2 separate regions of the Homo sapiens genome follow, and region 1 is linked to region 2. The links are contacts of gene promoters, found by promoter capture Hi-C in human tissues and cell types (Jung and others, 2019). All regions are on one chromosome and are shown on one strand. Each heading gives the region's core, a stretch centred on a gene start or on the middle of the fragment in contact. The rest is flanking DNA. Distances are from core to core; before and after follow the strand shown.

The links. Contacts are between HindIII fragments. The study calls those that stand out against the background at their distance.
Region 1: the fragment with the promoter of AQP10 here is called in contact with a fragment that was not itself captured in region 2 in 1 of the 25 tissues and cell types used here (liver).

The regions. Positions count from the first base shown.
Region 1 is chr1:154,316,214-154,322,848 of GRCh38, reverse strand. AQP10 (aquaporin 10) reads right to left here and starts at 1,756. Exons shown (of 6, transcript NM_080429.3): 1 at 1,589-1,756; 2 at 790-916. The coding sequence starts at 1,693. RefSeq lists a silencer at 1,786-1,977. The HindIII fragment of the contact is 14,849 bases long and covers 1-6,353 here.
Region 2 is chr1:154,602,573-154,608,517 of GRCh38, reverse strand. It overlaps ADAR (adenosine deaminase RNA specific), which reads left to right and starts at 332. Exons shown (of 15, transcript NM_001111.5): 1 at 332-526; 2 at 5,892-5,945. The coding sequence starts at 512. RefSeq lists an enhancer at 59-448 and a silencer at 449-558. The HindIII fragment of the contact is 4,982 bases long and covers 1-4,193 here.

The DNA of each region.
Region 1 (6,635 bases), core at 507-3,006, 290 kb after region 2:
TGAGGCTCCAGATGTTACAGATGTTAAGTGACTTAGCAAAGTCACACTGTGGGCCAGGCACAGTGGCTCACGCCTGTAATCCCAGCACTTTGGGAGGCCGAGGCAGTGGATCACTTGAGGTCAGGAATTCCAGACCAGCCTGGCCAACATGGTGAAACCCCGTTTCCACTAAAAACACAAATATTAGCCAGGCGTGGTAGCAGGTGCCTGTAAAATCAGCTATTCGGGATGCTGAGGCAGGAGAATCGCGTGAACCCAGGGGCAGAGGTTGCAGTGAACAGACATCACACCACTGCTCTCCAGCCTGGGCAACAGAGTGAAACTCCATCTCAAAAAAAAAGAAAAAAAAAAAAAAAAAAGAAGAAGACACTGTGAATCCAAAGTTGGAACCTAGGTCTGTCTGCTTTTTCCACAGCAACACACTATGTCTCAAGGCTCCACCCAAGCACACCGATGCAGTGTGTATCTGGGGTACAAACAGGAGAGGTCCTGAGTGGAGATGAGCCCCCAGAGGACTTCAGGTGGGGGATACAAGAGGATAGCAGCTGCCCTTCGTGCCCTGCCATTGATTTCTGTCTAGGTGAGCCAAGCATTAGTGTGAGGAAGCAGGATGGAGAGATACAGAAAGAGGAGGGGCTGGTGGGGCCAAAGGCTTATTTCAGTCTGGGACACTGTTCAAGGGGATAATGTCCACGAGTCACAGAAGGATTTGCGTTTCCACCATCACCAGACAGACAAACTGGCATGCACATCCCACGTGCTCTGATGACCAGACCCCACCCTCCTCACCTGAGACGTTACCACCCACGTAGATGGCTATCGTAACGGCCAGAGAGCCAGCCAGAAACATGGTGAAGAAGTTGCCTTTGGTTTCTCCACTGGTGACAGCCTGGGCCACAGCTCCTTGGGTGAGGAGCTGCTGAGAAGAGGAGAGATGAGGAACAGGGAGCCCAGGAGACCAACAGGGAGAAAGGTTGGGAAGGCCAGGGGAGCAGCCAAGGAGATGAATGAGCACAGAAGACAAGCAAGGGAAGGAGAAAAGCAGAAGGAGGGAAGGGAAAAGAAATGGGGAAAGTGGAGGAAGAAGAAAGGGAAAGAATGTGGGAAAAAAGAAAAGAATTTACCCAACTCATAGGCATTTGAGGGTACAAACCCATGGCAGGGCTCAGCTTTAAAAAGTCTTATCTAAGATTCTTTCTATGGAAGAGTTCCATCAAAGCCAATTTTAAAAGCCTATGTGAAAAATAATTATTCTTGCTGCACTTTATACAATCATCAGGCCAAGTATAATAAAGCACATTGGTCTTACCATGAAAATGGTCTTTCATAAAAATGGGAAACTGAAGAGAGAAAAATTATGTTTCAAGAACTATGATACACTTGTTATTAAAGAAAGAATAAAAATGACAAGAATAAAAATGATGAAGTAGGAGAGGAAAGGAGATTAGGAGAGACGAGAGGATAAAAACGAAAAGTGATAGGGAGTTGAGAGGAAGGGGGACACCAAGAGAAAGAGATAAGGACAACAGAAGGAGCCAGGAACTTTTGCCCAACCCCCTTCTTTCCTTCCCGCAGTGATCCTACCTACCATGAGTACAAACACACCCAGAAACTCTGCCAGGCACTGCCGGGCCAGGAGGCTGCGTATCCGGAGGTGGCCCATGATTTCAGCCGGGGCCTGAGTGAAGACCATGGTGGAAACACCCTATTGCTATTCACTGCTCCCTCTGTCTGCATAGGCACACTGTCACTGCACAGCTACTGCCTGCCTCCAGCAAAGATAAGGAACAGACTTTAAAACCATTAGCTCAGTTCCTGAACAGCAGCTACGTGTCTGTGCACGTGTGTAGGCTAGGAAACAGAGAGATAACAAGAGAATGTCTGGGAGCAGGCTATGAACACAGAGCCTGGAGTTTACCCAACCTCTGTCTCTTTTACCCTTCATTCCCAGTCATCACAGGACTAGCCTCCCCCATCCTGACAAATAGAAGGAAGTACCCCGCTTCATAGACATTAGATCTCTTGGTCCTGAAGTCAGCTCTGCAAAGTAGTACTATTGCTTCCATTCTACAGATGAGGCTAGTGGGCCTTAGAACTCCCCAAGATCAAACTTTTTTTTTTTTTTTTTCTGAGAGAGAGTCTTGCTCTGTCCCCCAGGCTGGAGTGCAGTGGCACCATCTCAGCTTACTGCAACCTCCACCTCCCAGGTTCAAGCAATTCTCCTGCCTCAGCCTCCCAAGTAGATGGGACTACAGGTCCATCACACCTGGCTAATTTTGATATTTTTTAGTAAAGACTTGGTTTCTCGGGAGGCCGAGGCAGGCAGATCACGAGGTCAGGAGATCAAGACTATCCTGGCCAACATGGTGAAACTCCATCTCTACTAAAATACAAAAAAATTAGCGTGGTGGTGCACGCCTGTAGTCCCAGCTACTCGGGAGGCTGAGGCAGGGGAATCACTTGAACCAGGGAGGCGGAGGTTGCAGTGAGCCGAGATTGTGCCACTGCACTCCAGCCTGGCAACAGAGCGAGACTTTGTCTCAAAAAAAAAAAAAAAAAAAAAGACGGGGTTTCACCATGTTGGCCAGGCTGGTCTCAAACTCCTGACCTCTAGTGATTCACCTTCCTTGGCCTCCCAAAGTGCTGGGATTACAAGCGTGAGCCACCGTGCCCGGCCCAAGATCACACAATTATTTCATGGCTGAGTGAATTCAAATCCAGATTTTCTGACTCTCCAGCTGGTAACCCACAAAGCCTCTCATTTAGAACCTGAAGCCTTACCCCAAACCATTTGGATGCTTGAAGAACTCAATAGGCATCTGGAAAGACTGGGCTAAAGACCACAGACTGTGGGAATGAAACTCACATATTGAGTGCTTGTACTTCCCTTATGCCGAGTGTCACATAGGTTAGAGAATACTCCATCTTTGTGTCCCCTGACATGGCTTGACATGAGGCCTTCACACTCATGCTGAGCTCCACCTGGCCTTCTCTGGGTGCATGCCACTCTTGCTCTGCATGAAGTAACCGCATCCTACTTCTTCATATCTCAAGGCTCCAATTAAATGCATTCAAAGAATCTACGTCTAGACACTGGAGAAACAGTGGTGAACAAAACATAGTCTCTGCCCTCCTAGAGCTTATGTTCTAGTAGGTGGAAACAGACAATATGCAACTTTTTAAAATACCATATACAGTTTATGAAGTTCTTGAGGGCTACCATTATGATTTATGTAACCCTGTGGGCTCTACCACTGTCCTGGGCACATCTGTGTGACTAGTAAAGAAATAATATTTCTTTACTAGGTTTAATGGATACTATAGTGCTCCACCCAGATTCCCCCTTGGGAGCCAATATGCCCATTCGCTACATGTAGGAAATACCAGCTGCTGATACCACATAGCTACCTCCCTCATTGGGCAATGCCCTTCAAGTCAGAAAGATGCCTCACCGAAGGTTACATGCCCTCCTATGGGGCCCATGTCAAACACTGATTGATGGAGGGATATAAAAGTCTAGCCTCTTTGCCTCACTTTGCGACAACTCTAAAGGGCTGTTCCAGCTCCAGTTCCCCCATAGGATCCATTTAGGCATCTGTTATATCATCCATGTGTGTCAGTTTCTCCTGGTGCCTAATCTTGTTACAGGAAAGGGGTCTGAATCCAGATCCCAAGAGAGGGTTCTTGGATCTCACACTAGAAATAATTCAGGCTGAGTGCGGCGGCTCATGCCTGTAATCCTAGCACTTTGGGAGGCCAAGGCGGGATCACAAAGTCAGGAGATTGAGACCATCCTGGCTAACATGGTGAAACCCCGTCTCCATTAAAAATACAAAAAAATTAGCCGGGCATGGTGGTGGGCGCCTGTAGTCCCAGCTACTTGGGAGGCTGAGGCAGGAGAATGGCATGAACCCGGGAGGTGGAGGTTGCAGTGAGCCGAGATCGCACCACTGCACTCCAGCCTGGGTGACAGAACGAGACTCCGCCTCAAAAAAAAGAAAAAAAGAATTCAGGGCGAGTCCATAGAGTAAAGTGAAAGCAAGTTTATTAGGAAAGTAAAGGAATAAAACAATGGCTACTCCATAGACAGAGCAGCCCCGAGGGCTGCTGGTTGCCCATGTTTATGGTTGTTTCTTGATGATATGCTAAACAAGAGGTGGATTATTCATGCCTCCCCTTTTTAGACCATATAGGGTAACTTCCTGTCATTGTCATGGCATTTATAAACTGTCATGGCATGAGCCACCATGCCCGGCCATGACCTGTATCTTATGGCAACCTCCTATCTCATTCTGTAACTTAGAATGCTTTAACCATCTGGGAATGCAGCCCAGTAAGTCTCATTCTCATTTTACTCAGCTCTTGTTCAAAATAGACTTGCTCTGGTTCACGTGCCTCTGACATTTCCCCCCTTCCTTTTATAAGAGAAGCACTAATCCTAAGGGTTGCAGAGGGACGAAGGTCCATCTTCTGTAAGTTCTTCAGGATGAATAGGGGCGATGATATTTTTGCCTAACTCTTAGAATCTCTCATATTCGTGGTAGAGAGGAGCTCAGTTGGAAAGTGTTGGTATGGGCCAGGCGGGATGGCTCATGCCTGTAATCCCAACACTTTGGGAGGCTGAGGCAGGCGGATCACCTGAGGTCAGGAGTTCAGACCAGCCTGGCCAACATGGTGCAACACTGTCTCTACTAAAAAATACAAAAAAAATAGCCAGATGTGGTGGCGGGTGCCTGTAACCCTAGCTACTCAGGAGGCTGAGGCAGGAGAATCTCTTGAACCTGGGAGGCGGAGGTTGCAGTGAGCCAAGACTGTGCCATTGCACTCCAGCCTGAAAGAATGAAACTCCATCTGAAAGAAAAGAAAAGAAGGGAAGGGAAGGGAAGGGAAGAAAAAGCATTGGTATCTTGAGGGCCATTCATAACTCATGAGTTCTGACAAAAGGTGATACTCTGGAAGATTCATAAGTGTTCAGTTTAAGGAAACATTCAGTAAGCTTGTCCTCCATTCCTATACAAAGATTACAACAGCTATACATTCCACAACCATAAAGCAAAATAAGTAAAATTATCCCAAGTAAACTAAACTAGAAGGCTTTCCATGAACTGAGGAACTGTTGGAACCACGCTGATATGAGGTTGCTAGATGATTCCAGTACATGCCCAGAATTAGAATATTGATGCAGATTTTTACATTACCCATCCCTCTTGTTTCTTCTGAGCAGCAGTCAGAGGCCACTGGTTGGTTCACAGGACTAAGCAGGGTTAGCCTAAATTGCAGAAACAAACTTAAAGACAACTGATGAGACTGGAATTTAATAACAAGTGTATCATAGTTCTTGAAACATAATTTTTCTCTCTCCAGTTTCCCATTTTTATGAAAGACCATTTTTATGGTAAGACCAATGTGCTTTATTATACTTGGCCTGATGATTGTATAAAGTGCAGCAAGAATAATTATTTTTCACGTAGGCTTTTAAAATTGGCTTTGATGGAACTCTGTTCCATAGAAAGAATCTTGGATAAGACTTTTTAAAGCTGAGCCCTGCCATGGGTTTGTGCCCTCAAATACCTTTGAGTTGGGTAAATTCTTCCTCTCCTTTTGAGGTCCCCAGATAACTTGGGGCTCCTGGACCTTTTAGAAGGTGACATTCTTTACTTACCACAGGTCAGAAACCCTGTACAGGGACTGTGTAGGCAAGGTTATGAGCCCAGGTCGCTAAGTGGCTTTTATAGGCTTTACAAGTCAAGTTTGATTCCTTAATGGAAAGCACACCATTCCAGTCAAACCCTTCATAAAATAAACAATTTCTCCAATTGTGTCCTGTTGCAAAAGAAAACAGATTCTTATTACCCTTATGCAAATAACTGCATTGCCATAAATTAAGAATACACACAAATAATTTCCAAATTCTGGAGAAATCAAGTAGAGAGATGCATATACTCCAAATTTTGTTCACAGGAGTATACTTTACTCGATTATTAAAAGCTGTAAATATCTGAAAAGAAAAGTTGCCTTGACTCTAAAAAATAAAACAAAGGATCAGCAATGTTTTAAGCAAAGGCAAAAAGATTGCTTTAGTCTTCTTTAGTTTATGCAGTTAACTTTTGTTTGATATCTATGAACATTTCAGCTCCCCATGAGAGTTCTGAAAGTTGTTTCCTCTATTCTAATGTCACAATCTCCAAAGTTATCAGAAACCTGCATTTAAGTGCACCTGTTAAAGTCCTATGGCTGATTATAAACTACCTTCTAAAGAAGATCAAAACAAGACAACAATTGTCTGTGGATGATAAAAAGTCTTAGGGCCAGGTGCAGTGGTTCACATCTGTAATCCCAGCACTTTGGGAGGCGGAGGCAGGTGGAACATTTGAGGTCAGGAGTTTGAGACCAGCCTGGCCAACATGGTGAAACCCCGTCACCACCAAAAATCCAAAAATTAGCCGCATAGGGCAGGTGCCCATAATCCCAGCTACTCAGGAGGCTGAAGCAGAGGAAGTGCTTGAACCCAGGAGGCAGAGGTTGCAGTGAGCTGAGATCGTGCCACTGCACTCCAGCCTGGGTGACAGAGCAAGAATCTGTCTCAAAAAAAAAAAAAAAAAAGTCTTAGGACAGCCACTAGTAAAGCCACAATT
Region 2 (5,945 bases), core at 453-2,952:
ATACAAAAAAAAAAAAAAAAAAAAAGCCAGGAGTGATGGCGCTCGCCTGTAATCCCAGCTACTCCGTAGGCTGAGGCAGGAGAATCGCTTGAACCCGGGGGGCAGAGGTTGCAGTGAGCCGAGATTGCGCCATTGCACTCCAGCCTGGGCAAAAAGAGCGAGACTCCGCCTCAAAAAAAAAAAAAAAAGTACCTTCCGTAGTTCTCATGCAGCGGAGGGGTTCGACTTGTAACCGGCCTGAAACCAAGCGTGGCGCAAGATTTGCTCAAGCCCCTCCTCTTGGCCAAACTTTCCGGAGGGGAAGGCTTTCCGAGGAAACGAAAGCGAAATTGAACCGGAGCCATCTTGGGCCCGGCGCGCAGACCCGCGGAGTTTCCCGTGCCGACGCCCCGGGGCCACTTCCAGTGCGGAGTAGCGGAGGCGTGGGGGCCTCGAGGGGCTGGCGCGGCCCAGCGGTCGGGCCAGGGTCGTGCCGCCGGCGGGTCGGGCCGGGCAATGCCTCGCGGGCGCAATGAATCCGCGGCAGGTAAGCCGGGCCGGCCTTGGACCTTCGCCGCCGTCTGGGTTCGTTTACAACCTCACAGGCTTTGTGTTGCAGTGCGTAGCGTGTGCGTCTTGTGAGTGTTAGAGTGTGTGTGTGTGTGTCGTCTTGCCAAGCAGCATTGCTGGTTTAGGAATTTGTGCGTCTTGTGAGTGTGTGTGTGTGGGTGTGTGTCGTCTTGCCAAGCAGCATTGCTGGTTTAGGAATTTGTGCGTCTTGTGAGAGTGTGTGTGTGTGTGTGTGCGTGTGTGTGTAGTCTTGCCAAGCAGCATTGCTGGTTTAGGAATTTGTGAATTTGTATCCTGCTCATTAATTCTGCAGAATGGAGCAGTGCGTGAAGAGGGCTTGGGGGAAAATGCGCCCCCGTCTGAGTAGGAAGGCCTGAGCCCATGTCAAGGCAGACACATCGTCTCCCTTTCTGCTAGGGCCCCTTGTGGAACCCCCTACCCCCGCTTTAGCCCCACTTGAACAACGTTCGGACTTTGAGCAGCGCACACTATCCTCAGCTCACCTTATCCACCTCCTGAAGGCCTTCTGGGAGTTAAAAATGGCACTTAAGCTGTAGGAGAAAGCTTGTTAACCACTTTATAGCTAAAAACTGGGAAAACACAAATGGCCTTCAGCAGGTTAACAGATAAACTGAAATACATCCACATAATGGGATACTGCTTAGTAGTGAAGAGGAAATACTGTTACAAGTAACAACACGGGTGACTCGCAAGTGCGTTATGCTAAGCACGAGAAGCCAGACTCAAAAGGCTGCATACTGTATGAGTCCATTTATATGACATTCTGGAAAAAAAAAACCACAGTTATAGGGATGGAAAGTGGATCCGTGGGTGCCAGGGACTGGGTATCGTGGAAGAAATTGATTGTTGAGTGGCATGAAAAAGCTTTTTAGGGAAATAGAAATGTTCTATATCTTGATTGTGGTGGCGATTGTCGAAATTCATAGATTTATACACTTAAAAGGATAAATTTTACTGTATCTAAATTATATACCTCAATTTTGTTAAGATATATATATATTTTTTTTTTTTTAAGCACTCCTTTGAAAGGATTAAGGACGCCTAACTTGAAGGAAAAGCATTTCTGCACAGGTGTCAGTGTATTGCACTGTGGAACCTGTGTGGTAAAGGCAAAGGGGGTAGTGCTTATCTCTTGATCCTAAATATGTGAGACCAGATTAAAGTGAAATCTGGGAGGCAATGAATGTTAAATGAGTTGTTATGTAATTTGCATAGAGGTGATGCTGAGAGATTTAGAAAGGATCACTGTGGGTTGCTTGCTCACTTTCTTGCTCTCCTATTCCGTAGCTTTCCAAATGGCTGTACTCAACGGTGGCTTGGTGTTTAGGGGATTTAAGGGGGGCAAAAAGAAAGATTAATAATCTCCTCCTCTCCCTCTAACCCTACTGCCCTAAGATATCCTTAGCAAACTTACATCTCCTTTCTTTTCTCTGTGTTCATTCCATTGTGCGCACACATACACATTCATGGATTTTCTCTTTTTGTTTAGGGAAAAAAATTATAATGTACATACTATTCTACAACTTTTTGTTGTTTTATTGAACATTATATGATTCCTAAATTATCCCCAGGTGAATACAAATAGATATGACACATTTTAAAAAAATAAAATAACTGGCCGGGCGTGGTAGCTCATGCCTGTAATCCCAGCACTTTGGGAGGCCGAGGAGGGCGGATCAGGAGATCGACACCATCCTGGCCAGCATGGTGAAACCCCATCTCTACTAAAAATACAAAAATTAGCTGGGTGTGGTGGCGTGCGCCTGTAATCCCAGCTACTCCGGAGGCTGAGGCAGGAGAATCACTTGAACCCGGGAGGCGGAGATTGCAGTGAGCTGAGATCACACTGCACTCCAGCCTGATTGCAGTGAGCCGAGATCATGCCACTGCACTCCAGCTTGGCAACAGAGCGAGACTCCGTCTCACAAGAAAAAAAATAACCGTGTGAGTACTATTCCATAGAATGAATGTTTCATAATTTAATTCTTCTATAGACAGACATTAAAATATTTTCCAGATTTGGGCCAAGAGTAGCAGTTTAAAAAACATTTAGCTTTTAACTGACTCTAGCCACTTTGAAACACAATTTTTTTTTCCCAAGGTCACTCAAAGAGCTAATAGGAGAACCCCTAAGTCCCATAATTCAGCTCTGGGAGCCAGCACTCACTCTGTACACACATTTGCCTCTGTCCCTAGCAATATGGTGGGCGTGAGGGTGCAGCAAGAGGAACAAGAAAGAAATGATTGCTTGCATAGTGGCGTCTTGTTCATGCAGTCATTAATTCAACAAATGTTTGTTGAGAATCAGCTTTGTGCCAAGTGCTAGAGAGGTTGAGATGATTGAAGCATAGTCCTTGACCCCCAAGAGCTCACCATGGAATCAACTGAAGCCCCTCATCAGTACTGTGTTGGGAATATTGAGAGTGGAGAGTTGAGTATAACTTATAGGACACCTAATGTTAATTACCTTTCAGACACTGCAATGTGTGTGTGCCATAAAAAAAAAAAAAATCCAGTAGCTCTGATACGAGGGAAAGTAAATGGTTTAACAGGTGCTGAGTAGGAGAAGCTCAAGGAGAGGAAACCCCAAGGGCTGAAGAAGGTGGGAGTCAGGAGTCTCCTGAAGCAAGTGGCATTTAAGGAGCTCTATAAGGAAAGGGTCAGAGTTGTGATAGGTGGCTGTGGAGGGAGATGTGCCACCTGGATTGGCATGTAGAGGGATAGAAAGATTATAGGCCTTTGCAATGGCCCAGTAAGAGGTAATGAGGGGCTGGAACTGGAAGAAAACACATTTAAGACACAGTACAGAGGTGGCAGACAAGGTGGGACTTGGCAACTACCTGATGAGATCCAGGAGATGAGGCCAGGAGGCGGGCAGCAAAGATGACGCAGGTTTCTAGCCTTAATAGGCTAGGAGGAGAGTGATGCCATTAGCAATAAGAACTACAGGAGAAGGAGCTGAGTTTGAGGGAACTATTAATTTGGTTCAGAATATGTGCTGTTTGAGTTATGGCAGGATATTTAAGTGGACAGACTGTCGACATAGTTGGAAATTCAGATCTTAAGCTCCCACACAAGGTAGTGGCTGGACATAGTAGATTTGAGTGCTCTTGCTTCAGAGGGCTAGTTTAGGTTGGGGCAGTGATTAAAGCAACCTAGGAAATAAATTATAAAGGAAGAAGAGGTCCTTAAAACCTTGGAGACTGATTATATAAAGGGTGGATCCGTTAATACAGTAGCTATTAAAAAATTATAAGGGGTGGGAAAAAGGGACAAAGAAGAAAAAAGAGGTGAAAGACCTTTGCTGTGTCACCAAACCCTGGGAGGAGAATTTTTTAAAAGAAGAGTACTCAATCCACAGTGAACTAAGGCATGTTTGTTAAACACAATTGACCACCACACAGCGAAGACCCAAATGAGGTTCAAGAGAAGGAATTTTTATGGACCCTGTTAGCACAAGTCAAGGTCCTTCTCCAGTACCACTGGGAAGCTTTGGAGAAGAAAAGGGGGACAGTGGGCCTTGGGTGGAGAAGGGAACTGACCATGAGATCCAGGTGGGGTGAGGAGGTGTGTGAAGTCAGAGTGGGGAAGAATCAGGGTGGCTTACTGGCAGCTTCACCGGGGTCATGCGAGGAGCAGGTTCCACCAGAGTAAGGAGTGAAGTTGTAGAAACACAGGGAAGTCACCATCAGAAAAGAGCAGGAGTCAAGAAACTATGGCCCACAGGTACAAACTACCTGTTTTTATAAATAAAGCTTCATGGTAAATGAATTGTAAATAAAGTTTTGCATATTGTGTGAGGCTGTTTTTGTGCTACAGTGGCAGAGCTGTCTGGCCCTTTATAGAAAAAGTTTATCAGCCACTGGAAAAGAGTTGCAGGATTTGAGGTCTTGGTGTGATGGCCTAGGTTAGAGTCATAGTGAGATTGAAGGAGTAGCTAGACAAGCCAATTGTGTGGCAGAAAGGTAGGGATGGAGATCACTGGGTTAAGGATCCTTGTAGCCAGGACACCATGAGAGTGATTGACAAGAATGCTGAAATCCCCTAAGTGTGTCAGGATGTGGAAGAGTAGAAGGCTAGAGTTATGGAAGAAAGGGTCCCACCTCTACCTGTGCAGCCTCCAGGAGAGTCTGAGGAGGGGGCGGTGAGTGTGAGTAAATGTTGTCAGAATCCCTCCTCCCAGTCTACAAGCCCCAGGGAAAGGAAGCAAGGTGTTTACTGACACCCCCAGGCTTATAAGTACTTCCTGGCTCCATCACCCTCCAGTGAACAGCCCTGGGGAGAAGACAGTACTGGTTTGCAGGTGGGTGGGTGGGGAAAGGGGTCACAGGTGCTTGGTGTTCTGGTAAATGTGCATATGAGAACATGGGGTTGCTTGTGCCCTGTCCGTCAGGGTTCAGAAGAACGTGCAGTGGAAGCAGCTATGGGGAAGTAGCTAGGGAAGGTAGGACTGGTCTGAGGTGGTGAGGAGCAGATGCTGCCAGCTCCACACATCCAGGAGAGCCTGGGTGGTTTGGGCAAAAGTCTCTGGCATCCCTTCTGAGCCTGGGTACCACACTGAAGAGTGAGGACAGTGTGCCATTTTTATCAGGAAACCCTCCAGCTCCCTGAAGACCAAATTCTGATCCTCCTGGGATGGCAGTGAAGAGCCACAGAGATGACTCTGAGGTCCCGTGGCCTTTTCCCACCTGGAGATTGTTTTCGTTACTGCGCTGTTACAGCCTTGGAGGACTGGGGTTCAGTTTCATCCAATCACATTTCTTCTTTTGTCATAGTCATCTAAACGATAGATCTTAGAGACAGGTGGGCAAGGGGTGCACTGGTGAGCCTGACTTAAGGAGAGGTCATCTCGTCCCTTCCCTAGTCCCATCTCCCTTGGTTATTGTTATTTCATGTGATTGTTCTGGTTATTTCAGGTTATTCTGTTTTTGTTTTCAAAACAATAACATATATTTGTTGTTCTGATTTTAAAGGGGTAATTGTTTTGGTAACTAGAAAATTACCTTCTCAACTCCCTTAAATTCTGTCAAAGGGAAAAGTAAGTTAGGTTGCTGGAGAGGCTATGCTGAGGCCTCAGAACCTCTGTATTCCTGGAAGTTCTGCGTGCTTTGCCTCCTGCTCCCCTCTCTGTGTTCCTGTTGGCAGGCCCCTAGGCAGGATTTAGGAGGTAGGCAAGTCACCCTAGCCAAGTCATAAGCCCATGGCTCAATTGCCTTCTCAGCCCTTCAAGGGCTGTTCCACAGGCAGCAAAGGGAGGGGCCTCCACAGGTTCACCACTGCAGCCCTAATTCATTTTCTTTTTCCACTGTCTTATTCTGCAGGGGTATTCCCTCAGCGGATACTACACCCATCCATTTCAAGGCTATGAGCACAGA